Regions from separate parts of the Homo sapiens genome. Here region 2 is linked to region 1. The links are contacts of gene promoters, found by promoter capture Hi-C in blood cells and fetal thymus (Javierre and others, 2016). All regions are on one chromosome and are shown on one strand. The core of a region is centred on a gene start or on the middle of the fragment in contact, and the rest is flanking DNA. Distances in the headings are between cores, read along the strand shown.

The links. The method cuts DNA at HindIII sites, captures the fragments that hold promoters and counts their contacts. A CHiCAGO score of 5 or more calls a contact.
Region 2: a fragment that was not itself captured here is called in contact with the fragment with the promoter of SLC45A4 in region 1 in 1 of 17 cell types (total B cells); the score reaches 5.3 in total B cells.

What each region holds. Positions count from the first base shown.
Region 1 is chr8:141,304,509-141,311,343 of GRCh38, reverse strand. It overlaps SLC45A4 (solute carrier family 45 member 4), which reads left to right and starts at 3,056. Exons shown (of 9, transcript NM_001286646.2): 1 at 3,056-3,248. RefSeq lists silencers at 2,821-3,060, 3,081-3,180. The HindIII fragment of the contact is 5,295 bases long and covers 940-6,234 here.
Region 2 is chr8:140,849,865-140,856,699 of GRCh38, reverse strand. All of the region lies in intron 5 of PTK2 (protein tyrosine kinase 2), which reads left to right. Among named protein-coding and RNA genes, the nearest start is that of MIR151A, 120 kb to the right of the region's middle. The HindIII fragment of the contact is 8,505 bases long and covers 1-6,835 here.

The DNA of each region.
Region 1 (6,835 bases), core at 1,807-4,306:
CATCTCAGGCTTAGAAACTGCCTTCTAAGTTTCATTCACAAGAAACTTCATGCCTACACTTACATTCTTTTTTTTTTTTTTTGAGACAGGGTCTTGCTCTGTCATCCAGGCTGGAGCACAGTGGTGCAATCATAGCTCACTGTAGCTTTGAACTCCCAGGCTCAAGTGATCCTCCTGCCTCAGCCTTCTGAGGGCTGAGATTACAGGCATGTGCCACCACACCCAGCTAATTTTTGAATTCTTTGTAGAGATGGGGCCTAGCTATGTTGCTAGGCTGGTGCCTATACTTCTATACTTGCATTCAGTTACTCTTTTAGAGGCTTTTTTTTTTTTTTTTTTGAGATGGGGTCTCATTCTATTGCCCAGGCTGGAGCGCAGTGGTGCGATCTCAGCTTACTGCAACCTCTGCCTGCCAGGTTCAAGTGATTCTCCCGCCTCAGCCTCCCAAGTAGCTGGGCCCACAGATGCACACTGCCCCAATCAGCTAATTTTTGTATTTTTAATAGAGATGGGGTTTCGCCATGTTACCCAGGCTGGTCTAGAACTCTTGAGCTCAAGCAATCCACCCACCTCGGCCTCCCAAGGTGCTGGGATTACAGGCATGAGCCACCACCATGCCCAGCCCCAAGAAATACTTATGGAGCACCTACTACAAGGCTGATCCTAGACTGGGCTCCATGGCTACCATGGCTGGTACATACCCCACAATGCACTCCTTAAGAAGAGAGATGGGATCATGTTCCCAGCTCCAGTACTAGGACCCAGCAAAGCGTGTGGCACATAGTAGGCACACACTCAGTAGTTGGTTACTGCATGAATGACAATGAAGACAATTCAATCAATACCAGCAATTTGTGAATAAACAAAGTCTTTACCTGTTCTGTCCTCTTGATTGTATTGTCATTTTAAAAAGCATCATTTTGCTATTTTGTTTAAGCTTCAGGACAACTTGTGAACTAGGTACTATTAGAATGCTCACTTATAGAAGAGGACTCAGGGAGGTTAAGTAGGCGCCCAGGCTCACACAGTTGGCTCACAGCACACCTGGAATTGCCGCTGCCTCTATCCTTTGGCCATTGAAAGAAAAATCACCAGGGAAGCAGATGTACAGTTTGAGCACTCATGATGTGTCTGATGCTGCTTTGGACTGTCTACAGACCATTGATGTACTTACTAACCCTCTGTTGAGATACTGCATACACATGGAAAAACACACACGTCTTTTTTTTTTTTTAATAGAGATAGGGTCTTACCATGTTGCTCAGGCTGGTCTCAAACTCCTGGGCTCAAGCAATCCACCCGCTTTGGCCTTCCAAAGTGTTAGAATTACAGGCGTGAATCACCGTGCCCCACAGGCACATGCATCTTGACTGCACAGCTGGAAAAGTCATCATAAACTGAGCACACTGTAACCAGCACTCAGACCAAGACACAGAACACAGCCAGCCCCCAGACACGTCCTCTGTGCCCTGCTTCCTGGCTCTGGCACCCCTCCCTCCAAGGGTAACCACTATCCTGACTGCTACCCCCATATACACCTTCTACCACTTTATCCACATGGAAACAAATATGGCTTTTTATCCTCTGGCTTCTTTTCCTCAACATCATTTGTGAGAGTCATCCATGTTGTTGTGTGTAGTTGATTATTCACTGTCATTGCTGTCATTCCACTGTGTGAATATATCACAATTTATGTATCCATTTAACGGCTGATGAGCATTTCAGTAGTTTCCAGTTTGGGGCAATTATAAACACTGCTGCTATCAACAGAAACACAATGTTAGGTGTGTATCTAGGAGCAGAATTGCTGGGTAATCAAGGCCTTTCAAAAAGATTTTGAAAGTTGTACCACTTTGCATGTCCACCAACAGTGTCTGGCAGTTCCAGTTGCTCCATTTCCTTGTCAACACTTGATATGGTCAGATTTTCCCATTTCCGATGCTCTTGGAGGCTCTGCTCTGCACTTCACTTCTAAATTCCTTTAGCAACAGGTGAGATGGATCTTACGATTTCTATTTTACAGATGAGGACGCCAAGGTTCTGAGAAATGAAGTAATTCCTCCAAAGCAACTTAAACCCTGGCAAGGGTGCAGGGCTGCGACGTTAACAGGGTTGGCCTCAGCCCATCACATCTGTCTGTTAAAGCCGCCTCCCCAGACCTTGTCTTGATGGGGTTTCCCAGCAGTCCTGCCCTAGGGATTGTGGCCCTTCTACACGTGGGGAGAGACGGATCAGTGTCCCTGGCCAGGGCCAAGCCTGAGAGGGAGGCCCAGCCTCCAGGAAGCTCCGGGTCGGGTCTTCGTCCTGCCCCGCTCTCCAGGTTGGAGAGGGGACCCGCAGAGCGCGGGGCGTTGGGGGAGTTGGGGACGGGGGCGTGGTCCGGGACCAGGTAGGAGGTCTTCGGAGGGTGGCAGGGAGGGGAAAACAGGAGAGTTTTCTCCTGCAGCGGAGGAGGGGCTGCAGCACCTGGATGGGGCCCATGTCGCCGCGCCACGGGCAGGGGCGGAGGGGGCGGGAGGGTGCTTGCCAAGGGGCTGGGCTGCCGGGGGCCGGGGCCTCGTGGCTAGCCGGACCCCTCTGCGACAGAGTGGCGAGAGGAGCGGGGAGAGAAGGTGGGGACAGGCGGGGGCCACCTCCTGCGGCTGCAGAGAGGGATGGGGTGGATTGCGGGCCAGCGCTTTAGGGGAGAGAGGGCGGACGCTCGGTGCGGAGGGGCCGGGGCCGGGGCCGGGGCCGGGGGCGTAGCGGGAGGAGGGCGGGGGCGGGGCTGGATTATGGCTGGGGGCGGGGCCATGGCGAGACGGGGGCGGGAGCCACGGTGCGCGCGGGGGCGGGGCAGGGGCGCGGCGGGGGCGGGGCGGCCGTTCGGGGGCGGGGTGGGCGGCAGCGGAGGCCAATGAGCGCGCGCGGCGCAGACCCCGCCCCCCGAATCCCCGTCCCGCGGCGGCGGGTGCTGCATAGTCATGAGGCGCAGGGGCCGGCGCTGCGTCAGCGGAAGCGGCGCGGAGCGGCTGTTTCCGACCCGATAAAGCGGCGTTGTCTCCGCGCGCCGGCCGCAGCCTCGCAGCGCTCTCTCCGCGCCCGCGTCGCTGACTGACCGCCCGGCCGGCCGGCCGAGGGAGCAGCCCCCGCCCGGACCCGCAGCCGCCTCCCGACCCCGGTGCGCCCGGGGCTCCGCGCCCCCGTAGCCCCTGCCCGGCCCGGCCCGGCCGCCCCGCCGCCCCCGCGGCCCCGGCCGGAGGAGACAGGTGAGTGGCCTGCCGCCCGCAGCCGCCTGCCCCGCCGCCCCCTGCACCTCGCACCTGGGCGCCGGGCACCTGCAGCCTCCCCACCCCCACCTCCCGCACAGCCTCGGCCTCCAGGTCGGGTCCGCGCCGCAGCCCCAGCCCCGCACCTTCTCCGGGGGAGGGGACGTGCCCCCACCCGGCTTGCGCTGGCTCCTCAGGGCCCCCCAATTCCTTCCCGCCTCCTCTTTCCGGATTGCACCTGCCCTGGTCCCCAGCCCTGCAGCCTCCCTCATTCCCCCCACCCCGGCCCCCACCCCGGGGCGCGCGCCTTCATTTGGACCCGGCCCGCTTTCGCACCCATCAGTCCTCCCCGCCCCCAGTTCCTCGGTTTCTCTACCCAGAGAGGAGCCTGGCGCCTCTAACTCCTGGTCCTGACCCTGTCTTGTCCTTCTAACCCCTGCCTGCTATCTCTAACTTATGAGAATTCAACCAGCGATACACCACTCGCGAAGTGGCCCCCTCTCCCCTCTGTCTGGACCGGTCCTCCCAACCGAACACACTCCCTTCTTCCCCTTCTTCCCCTTCCCTTCTTCCCCTCCTTTCCCTCTGCCCAGTGCACACACGACCCTGGCAGCACTGCTAGCCAGTGTCCCCCGCCTCGGACCCCCAGCCTGCACCGCCAGACTGTGGCTCTGCCCCGGTCTCATCGGCACTGCGCTCCCTTGTGTCCCTTTGAAGATACCTTGATTTCCTGAGACCGACCTTGTCCCTGGAGGAAAGAGGCCAGGGCATCAGTTCATCCGGGCCCAGATTCCCTGCTCTGTAGAAGTCCCCGCACCTTCTGCGTCTCAGCACCCGCTGCCCCTTTCCCCTTTGCGCTTAACCCGTTCCTCCCCCAGGTATCCTGCTCTGGATTGGAGCACTTCCAGCAGCGGCTTTTCCAGCGGAGGCGGATCCACACGGGGCCCAGCCTCCTGGTTAGCTATTCAGAATGATTCTAGAAGGCGGGGGCTAGGGAGGGCTGGGAAGGGCCGCTTGACCTCCTAAGGAGCCTGAGGTGTTTGTGTCTCTCCAGTGCGGGTCACTGATGGAGTGTGGCTTCAGGTTCACAGACCTAGCCACTGACCCCCATCTGATACCTCAGCTGACTCCAGCAAAACAGGGCTTGTCGTTTTTATTACTGTTTTGGGGGCTGTCTTTTCCAGTCTATGACCCGGAGCGAGGAGGGTTTACCAGATGAGTGATTGAACTAATTGTTGTGGGGTCAGATGATTCTTGTGGGCTGGTAGATTCTGAATCGAAGCCCATTTCTGCTGGGGAAAAGCCACTGCATCTGCCCAGCATTACTGAGAGCGCCCTGCGCTTCCATTCCCCAGACGGTCTCATCCTTCCTGTGTCATTGGCAGACAGGTAGAATGTGGTAGGAATCTTATCCTTCTGTTATTTTGTGCTGGCTTTAGGAAAAAATAAGAAAACAAAAAGCTGGAGTATTGGTGTACAGGTTAGGGAGTGTAACACATGGGGATCAGAGCAGGTAACACACACTGTCCTTAAAAGAAATGTATAGTGTCCTCACTTTTCTGCTAGGTTTGAATTATTGTTAAAAGAACGAGCAGAGATTATTTAAATGCTTGGGAGAGGTTTTGCAGAAGCCACTTGATGAGAAGAGGCAGCCCTGCAGGTTCCGGGTGGAGGAGACTCAGGCGCAGTAAAGAACTCATGTGTTTCTAGAGAGAGGCTGGGGAACTAGGTCGTCTTACACATCAAGGATTTCACACCCGTTCAGGCTAATTGTTTTTGTGGCAGTGGCTGTAAAGGAAAGAAGCAAATCGTTTGAAATGTGTTTGAAATACACACTGGGTATTTAAAGGTGTGTTTTTTTGGCCCAGGTGTTCACAGGGCGGGGAGTGGGGAGGCTGCCCAGGGCCACCTCCCGGGCCTCGTGGGGGGAGTGGCCTGCTGCCCTGCCGAGATGCGTGCTGCAGCTTTGGCCCTTGTCGCATCGTGAAAGCAGATCAGAGATTGGACTGGGTGAGCTCCAAGGTGTGTGTCTTGCAGCTTGTAACACCCTCTAACTTTGCTTATTGGAGGGGGGTGGGGGAGGGGCGGAGCAAGCCTGTAAACCGGATTCTGCCTCCTTTCCGTGAGCTCTGAGATCCCGCCCCAGCCCGCCCCGCAGATCTGCAGGGAAGGAGAGGGCTGCGGCAGCGGCAGCTCCCCACTTTCCCGATGGAGGAAAGGAGCCGAGGAAGGTATTTCAGCCAATCTTGAGGTTGCTTGGTGGTGAATGGATTGTATCTGTGTTGTCAGGAGAGAGGTGGGGAGGACAGAGGAGTGCAGCGCAGGGGTTCGGGCTGTGATTGTCGTTCTGACCGTGGTGCATCCCAGTGCCCTCTCCCGCTCTTCCCGAGGGTCCTGACGCCCAGTGGCTGGCTGGGGTGGTTTGTGACCAACAGCCTTGTGGCCTGGCACCGAGTGAGGGTGACTGACAAGCACTGTAGGTGGCAGACAACCCCAAATTGCCAGTGCCCTTCTTGGGAACACCCCTGGCAGAGTCGTGTCTGTAATTTGTGGAGGCAGAATATGCTGGAAGCCGCGTTCCTGCTAATGATGGGTGAGGACTGTTCCTCGCTGGCCTCCTAGGTTCCCCAGGTTTTCATCACTGCGTGATTATGCTGACGAAGGCGCACTTAGTGAAACACCATCAGAAGGGTTGTCTCCACCTGAGCCAGGAAACAGATTTGACCAGAGGGAGCAAACCTCCCAGCCGAAGAGCAGCCTTGTAGAAAGGAAGGGGTGAGAGGACCCCAAAAGCAGGCGTCTGCAGTGGGTTTTCATGCAGAGGACCTGAGCGGCTGCACCTCCCCCACCGGCTCCTAGACAAGGTCCCCTTGTTTAGATTAGCTTAATTACCCCACCAAAATCAATGAACAAGGATCTTTTTAAATGTGAAACTTTCAAAATGTGCTTCTAGTGGCCTTTTCCCCCGAGTATCAAATGCTAAGCTTTTGTGAAATCAGGCACTTTCAGAGGACCGGGAGACCTCTTTAATGTTCGTGGAAATGAATCTTCTCTACCCTGAATCAGGAGAGGGCCTGCCGAAAGGGAAGCTTAACAGGTCATATTGTCATTTTCAACCCCTTGCCATTTGGGTGGAGGTGACAGGAGAAACAGCATAGTGTTTACGAAGTGGCCTCCTTGGCAAGTGACTTTTGGAGGAGGCATTTTAAGAAGATTAAAAACATCCACAGACTTAGAGGGCAGCCGCATAACCCACTTAGTGTTTCATATCCCTGATAGAGTGGCCCTTTGAGAGCCGTGGATGGGTTGCTGTTGTTCCCACCTCAGACGACGTGGGTGTTATTGCCCCAGGAAGACGGGACACTTGGTAGGGGTCATTTGTTGAGTGCGACTGGTTAGATTGCGGGAAATAGCACAAAACCCTGATGATGGAGAGAAGGGCTCTGAGTTCTCTTTGGCTCAGCTGCTGTGTAGCTTGGGGACTTCAGGTGAGAGGGAGAGGAAGTTCTCTCTCTCCCCCCCTTTTTTTTTTTTTTTTTGAGACAGTCTTACTCTGTCACCCAGGCTGGAGTGCAGTGGTGCGATCT
Region 2 (6,835 bases), core at 2,574-5,073, 460 kb after region 1:
TGCCTCTGGAATGTAGAATATGACCATCACCCCAGGAAGTTTCCCACTGACCCTTCCCAGTCAATCCTTGCCCCCAGTCATTGCCCCAAGCAACCATTGCTCCTGTGTTTTTCCCACCGTAGTTTAGTTTTGCATGTTTTAGAATTTCTTATAAACAGATTATGTAGTGCGTATTTTTATGTGAAGTTTCTTTTCTCATGTTTTTGAGATTTCAGTAGTTTTCTTGTTGAGTAGTATTCTGTTATATAAATATATCGTAGTGTATTTATCCATTTTTCTGTTGATGAACATCTGGACTGTTTTGTTTTGTTTTGTTTTGTTTTGTTTTGTTTTTTACTATTATTGAGATGACTGGGAACATTCTTTGGCAAGCATTTTTGTGAACATGGGCTGGGACTTTCATGTTAAATGAAATTTGTATCTACCCTTTGATCCTTTACAGTTGTGTGATTTTATATTTCCTCCAGTAATGTATGAGAGTTCTGGTTGCTCTGCATTCTATCCAACATTTGATGTTGTCATTGTTTTGTTTTAGCCTTTTGACTAGGTGGGTATGTGGTTGAATCGTGGTGGTTTTTATGTTCACTTCTCTGGGTACCAACTAATAATCATTGTTTATGTTGTTTATTCTTCCATGTGCATATTGAATGTTAGTAGGTCTCCTTTTTTGAAAATCTGCTTAAACCTTTTTGTACAATATGTATTGTAAAATCGTACGCTTTTTCTTCCCAATTTTTTTTAAATTGTGGTAGAACACACACTTACCATCATAAAATTTACCATCTTAACCATTTTTAAGTGTGCAGTTCAGCAGTGCTACATACATTCATAATATTGCACAACCATCCCCACCATCCTTCTCTGTAACTCTTTTCATTTTATAAAACTGAAAGTCTATAGACAATATTTCCCCATTTGTCCTCCTTGCAGCCCCTGGCAACCACCATTCTACTTTCTGTCTCTATGATTTTAAAATGTAGGACTTTTCATGTACCTTGTATACTAGTCCTTTGTCATGTTATGTTTTGCTAGTATTTTCTCTGAGTCTGTGGCTTGTCTGTTCATTTTCTTAACTGATCTTAGGTTTTCTTTTTTTGTTTTTTTTGAGACAGAGTCTTGCTCTGTTGTCCAGGCTGGAGTGTGGTGGCGTGATCTTGGCTCACTGCAACCTCCGCCTCCTGGGTTCAGGCGATTCTCCTGCCTCAGCCTCCTGAGTAGCTGGGACTACAGTCGCCCGCCACCATACCTGGCTAATTTTTTGTATTTTTAGTAGAGATGGGGTTTCAGCATGTTGGCCAGGATGGTCTCAATCTCCTGACCTCGTGATCCACCCGCCTCGGCCTCCCAAAGTGCTGGGATTACTGACGTGAGCCACCACACGTGGCGACCCCCCCCTTTTTTTTTAAGTCTAGAAAATGGGCAGAGGGGATTGTTGTGAGTCTTCAGTGAAACAGCATATCAAAGCTCTTAGAAATGTCTGGCACATAGTGAACACACTCCTTAGTGTTCTCTTTTAATTTCTATGTAAATGAATCAGTATTTTTAATGGGGCCAGATGCAGTGGCTCATGCCTGGAATCTCAGCCCTTTGGGAAGCTGAGGCTGAAGGACCACTTGTGCTTGAGTTTGGGCTGCAGTGAGAAATGGTTGTGCCACTGTACTCCAGCCTGGGTGACAGAGCAAGACCCAGTTTCTAAAAATACATATATTTTATACATACATATATATATTTGGTTTAGCCAGTGCAGAAATAAAATAATTATGTTTAAATTATTTCTACCACCACCCCATCCCATGAAAAGAAGAGAGGGAGGGAAATAGATTACAATAAACTCCCCTAATTTTATTATTTCTCATTCTGAAAATTCATCCAAGTCCATTTTGGGTGGGGTCATGAGGAAAACACTGATGAGTGTTTGAGCGTTATATTACTAGTTAGACATAATTATTAAGGATGCACATAGCTTCATTAAAAGATGGCCTAAATGTAACTACCAATGTGAAAATTTCAATGACTTACTAAATATTTTGACCTATTTGTGAATATTCTGAAATATATTAATTAGCACATTCTAAAAATAAATTAGAATCTTGTTATAACAGTATTCACTGTTATAACAGTATATAGAGCAGGAATTTATAAAAATGAGTTTGACAATAAAGCTAATGACTCATGAGGAAGCAGGAACAGTTTGTTTTACCCCGGAATCAAATTTTTTTCTTTACCGTGTAACGTTTATTTTTTCTCTCACAACTTTCATTTGTTAAAGTTATAAGTATTTCATTGGCAACTTTTTGCAAATGATGGTGGCTGTTAGTTTGAAGGCCAGTGTCCATGTTTAGTCAAGAAGTCATATTAATCTGCATTGAGGATGCTGAACTTGTATAGAAATCTTTTAGCACTGTTGAAATGTTCAGCTCTTCAGATGCCTGAGCCTGATACGAGTTTGTCATTGTTTACTCCTACAGATGTTTTAAGACTTAGAATGAGTATGTCCACCCATTAACTTTTAAATGACATTAAATAATCAGTGGTTTCCTTGACAAAAGGAGTTGCAATAGGAAGTTGAAGAAAATACTGAGTCTAAAACTGTAACTTAACTCTATGGTATAGAATCTAAACTTAACTATAGGAACATGTGAGGTGCCAGGGCATACTTATTTCTTATTGGTCACCTTCCTTTTATTTTTATTCCAGTTTTCTTTTGTAGTTTTACAAGTTTTCAGATAATTGTGTCATTAGAAATTGACTTCCTTCTCTATATTTTCTTGGCCTTAAAGCTGTCGTTAAGATACATTTTGAAATTGCAGGTCTAAGAGGTAAAACTTAGTTTAAGCCTGGCATTCTCAGTATAGGAATTATCAGCTGCCCTTTTCCAGACAGAAGCTAAAATGTAATGTAGTCTAACTCTCTTATTAGAAGGTTTATTTTCTGTGGTTTGAAGATTTAATTGTGTACATTTCTTCTCCCTTTTTCACTCTTGTATATTTTTGATAATTGAAGGAGAAGCACTCATGGTTAATAAAGGGTGTGACACTCATGCACACGTGTGTTTACTGTGGCACTATTCACAACAGCAGAGACTTGGAACCAACCCAAATGTCCATCAGTGATAGACTGGATTAAGAAAATGTGGCACATATACACCATGGAATACTATGCAGCCATAAAAAAGGATGAGTTCATGTCCTTTGTAGGGACATGGATGAAGCTGGAAACCATCATTCTCAGCAAACTATCACAAGGACAGAAAACCAAACACCACATGTTCTCCCTCGTAGGTGGGAATTGAACAATGAGAACACTTGGACACAGGGCAGGGAACATCACACACTGGGGCCTGTCGTGGGGTGGGGGGAGGGGGGAGGGATAGCATTAGGATATATACGTAATGTAAATGACAAGTTAATGGGTGCAGCACACCAACATGGCAGATGTATACATATGTAACAAACCTGCATATTGTGCACATGTACCCTAAAACTTAAAGTATTAAAAAAAAAAAAGAGTGTGACATCATATGCAAAGGTTTGCCAAGCAGAGACTCTGGCCTGAGCTTGAGTGTTTAAGGTGTGTGTTGGAGGTCAGTCTCATAGGCATACAACGCCTACGTGACTGACCTCATTTATTCACTTTCCAGACCCTAGAGAGAAAACAGGTGTTTACCATCAAAACAGTGTGTGCATAAATTATCTGGTTCAAATTGGTGGCCAGTTTTTTCACCAGTTGGTGGTCAAATTGTGGCCGTCTTCAGGTATGCAGAAGCACTCTTATCAGACAGAACATTTCAGGGGTTTAGTTTCTAAGAGACTAAGGGCCAGCCCTAAAAATATGCCTTTCGTGGGAATGAACAGGATTTGAGCATCCCAGACCTGCCGCTGAGTTAACATTTTCCTGTATAACTTGCCTTTTCTTTCCTGGAATTAGGTTACTTCTGCTCAGTCTTCAGCTCTTAATTTAAATGGTGCTTTCCACGTAAAGCCTTCCATTTACCTGTGCATAGTACCCGTACATTTCCCATACAACATATACACATTTTAAAATACAAAATTTGTTTTATTGAGGTATAATTTACATACAATAAAATAATTTAAGTATGCAGTTTAGTGAGTTTTGACAATTGTATACAGTCCAGTAATTACCACTTCAGTCATGATATAATACAATATAGGAATAAGGAAATTGATACTGGCAGAATACTGTTAACTAGACTGCAAACCTAATTTAGATTTCACTAATGTTTACACACATTCAAGTGTGTGTGTGTGTGTAATTCTGTGCAGTTTTATCACAGGTGCAAATGTATGTAATCATCATAATCAAGATACAGAACTATCCTATGGACACAAAGAAAATCCCTGTTGCTTTATTAGTCACATGCTGTCCCATCCCTAACTCTAGCAAGCACTGATCTGTTGTTTATACGTTATATTTAACTGTCGTTAATCTGTTGTACCTACCAACAGGGTGTGCATTCAGTGAGAGCAAATAAGAAGTCTGTCTTCTTCACCGTTGTATCCACCACACAGTAGGGCATGGGTTTTAGGTGCTCAGTTTATTATCTTCGGGAATTTAATATTGAGAATTGACTTTTAATCCTAATGCCCTGATATTCAAAACTTTTAGATGAGATTTATTAGAAGATGTCATGAAAAAAATCCAAGAAATAAAGCAAATTTTTGAAGTTTGAGAAATCAGATTGTGTGTGTGCACACACATGTATGTGTGCATGTGCTCCCACCCAAGTACACACACGGGCACACACACACTCAACATCAAATGTTCTTTTAAAAGATTGCTATGCAGTTAGATTCATTTACTACCTTTTTTTTTTTTTTTTTGAGATAAAGTCTCTCTCTGTCACCCACGCTGGAAAGCAGTGGCATGATCTCGGCTCACTGCAACCTCTGCCTCCCGGGTTCAAGCGATTCTCCTTCTTCAGCCTCCCGTGTAGCTGGGACTACAGGTGCACACCACCATGTCTGCCTAATTTTTGTATTTATAGTAGAGAGATGTTTTTGCCATGTTGACCAGCCTGGTCTTGAACTCCTGAGCTCAAGCGATCCACCTGCCTTGGCCTCCCAAAGTACTGGGATTACAGGTGTGAGCCACCATGCCTGGCCCCTTCATTTACTTTTAATAAAATTTGGGGTTACTTAACCATTATAAATGGACAACAAAAAGAGATAATGGAAACATTTGTTGTCATATAGCTTTATGGTCTATCCTCAATAGAACATCCAAAGTAATTATTTTTAAATGAAAATTTACCATTACCTTTGTGTAAGTTCCATGTTTGTTTTATTCACTATAATATCCTGGCGCATGATAGTCATTTTATAAACATTTGATAAATCAATGAATGTGTAACTGTTAAATACTATGTTAAATGACATTGAACTGTTTAAAAGTATATAACTCATTAAGGTAGCGTAATTGTTCATTTGTATATTTTTATAGCTTAGGTATGAAAGAGGAAAAATTAAGTTAGTATTAATTTGGAGCTGCCATTGAGTTCCTTCTGTATACAAAATACTTCACAGTATCTGACAAAAACTCAGTCAGCTAGGCTCTAAGAGTAAAATTACTTGCTTTTGGTCACCCAGCTAGTAAGTAAACCTAGTCAGTTTTTTCTTTGTCTGCCCTCTGCCCCATCCTCTTTCTTTGCTACCAAGGTCATTTGAGTCCAACTGATAAATTTGTGTAGCTGTTAGAATATTCAAAAGAGACCACAATAAAACACAAAATCTCATGTGGTAGCCAAATCATTGAGTTGACATATGCAATACATTATGGAGTAATTTAGCATCAATATTTTCTGTTACAAAATGTGAACAGTTTTTATATTAAAACCTGTGCTTCATTCATTCTATTGCAGAGTATGATGAAGGAACTCCTTGATACAAATACAATACTTGCACAAAGAAAGAAGTCCAAATCCATCCTAGTTTTTTTTTCTTTTTCTTTTTTGAGATGGAGTCTCGCTCTGTCGCCCAGGCTGGAGTGCAGTGACACGATCACGGCTCACTGCAAGCTCCGCCTCCCGCGTTCACGCCATTCTCTTGCCTCAGCCTCCCAAGTAGCTGGGACTACAGGTGCCTGCCACCACGCCCGGATAATTTTTTTTTTTTTTTTTTTAGTAGAGATGGGGTTTCACTATGTTAGCCAGGGTGGTCTCGATATCCTGACCTCGTGATCTACCCGCCTTGGCCTCCCAGAGTGCTGGGATTACAGACATAAGCCACCGCGCCTGGCCCGTCGTAGTTTTTTTTTGAGACGAAGTCTCACTGTTGGCCCCCAGGCTGGAGTGCAATGGCACGATCTTGGCTCTCTGCAACCTCCGCCTCCTGGGTTCAAGCAATTCTCCCGCCTTAGCCTCCCGAGTACCTGGGATTATAGGTGCCTGCCACCATGCCCAGCTAATTTTTGTATTTTTAGTAGAGACGGGGTTTCACCATGTTGGCCAGGCTGGTCTCGAACTCCTGACCTCAGGTGATCCACCCACCTCGGCCTCCCAAAGTGCTGGGATTACAGGCGTGAGCCACTGTGCCTAGCCAACAAATTAATTTTTAAAAACCAACTTTCAGAAGTCTTTTTTTTTGGAAGGATCTTGCAAATTTCCTGGACCTGGGTATAATCCACAATAGAAAAAGAGAGTACAACACAGTGCCAGTGTTCCAATACCTCAGGAGATGCATATGAATCTATTGTGGTTGATACTGGGGATGCAAGGGTAAATGAGAGGTGGTTCCTATTTGTTAATCTTCATTCTAGTAGAGAATGACTGCACTGTGAAAGAGTTGACAAGTAGTAGGTACAAACTAAAGCTGGAGTT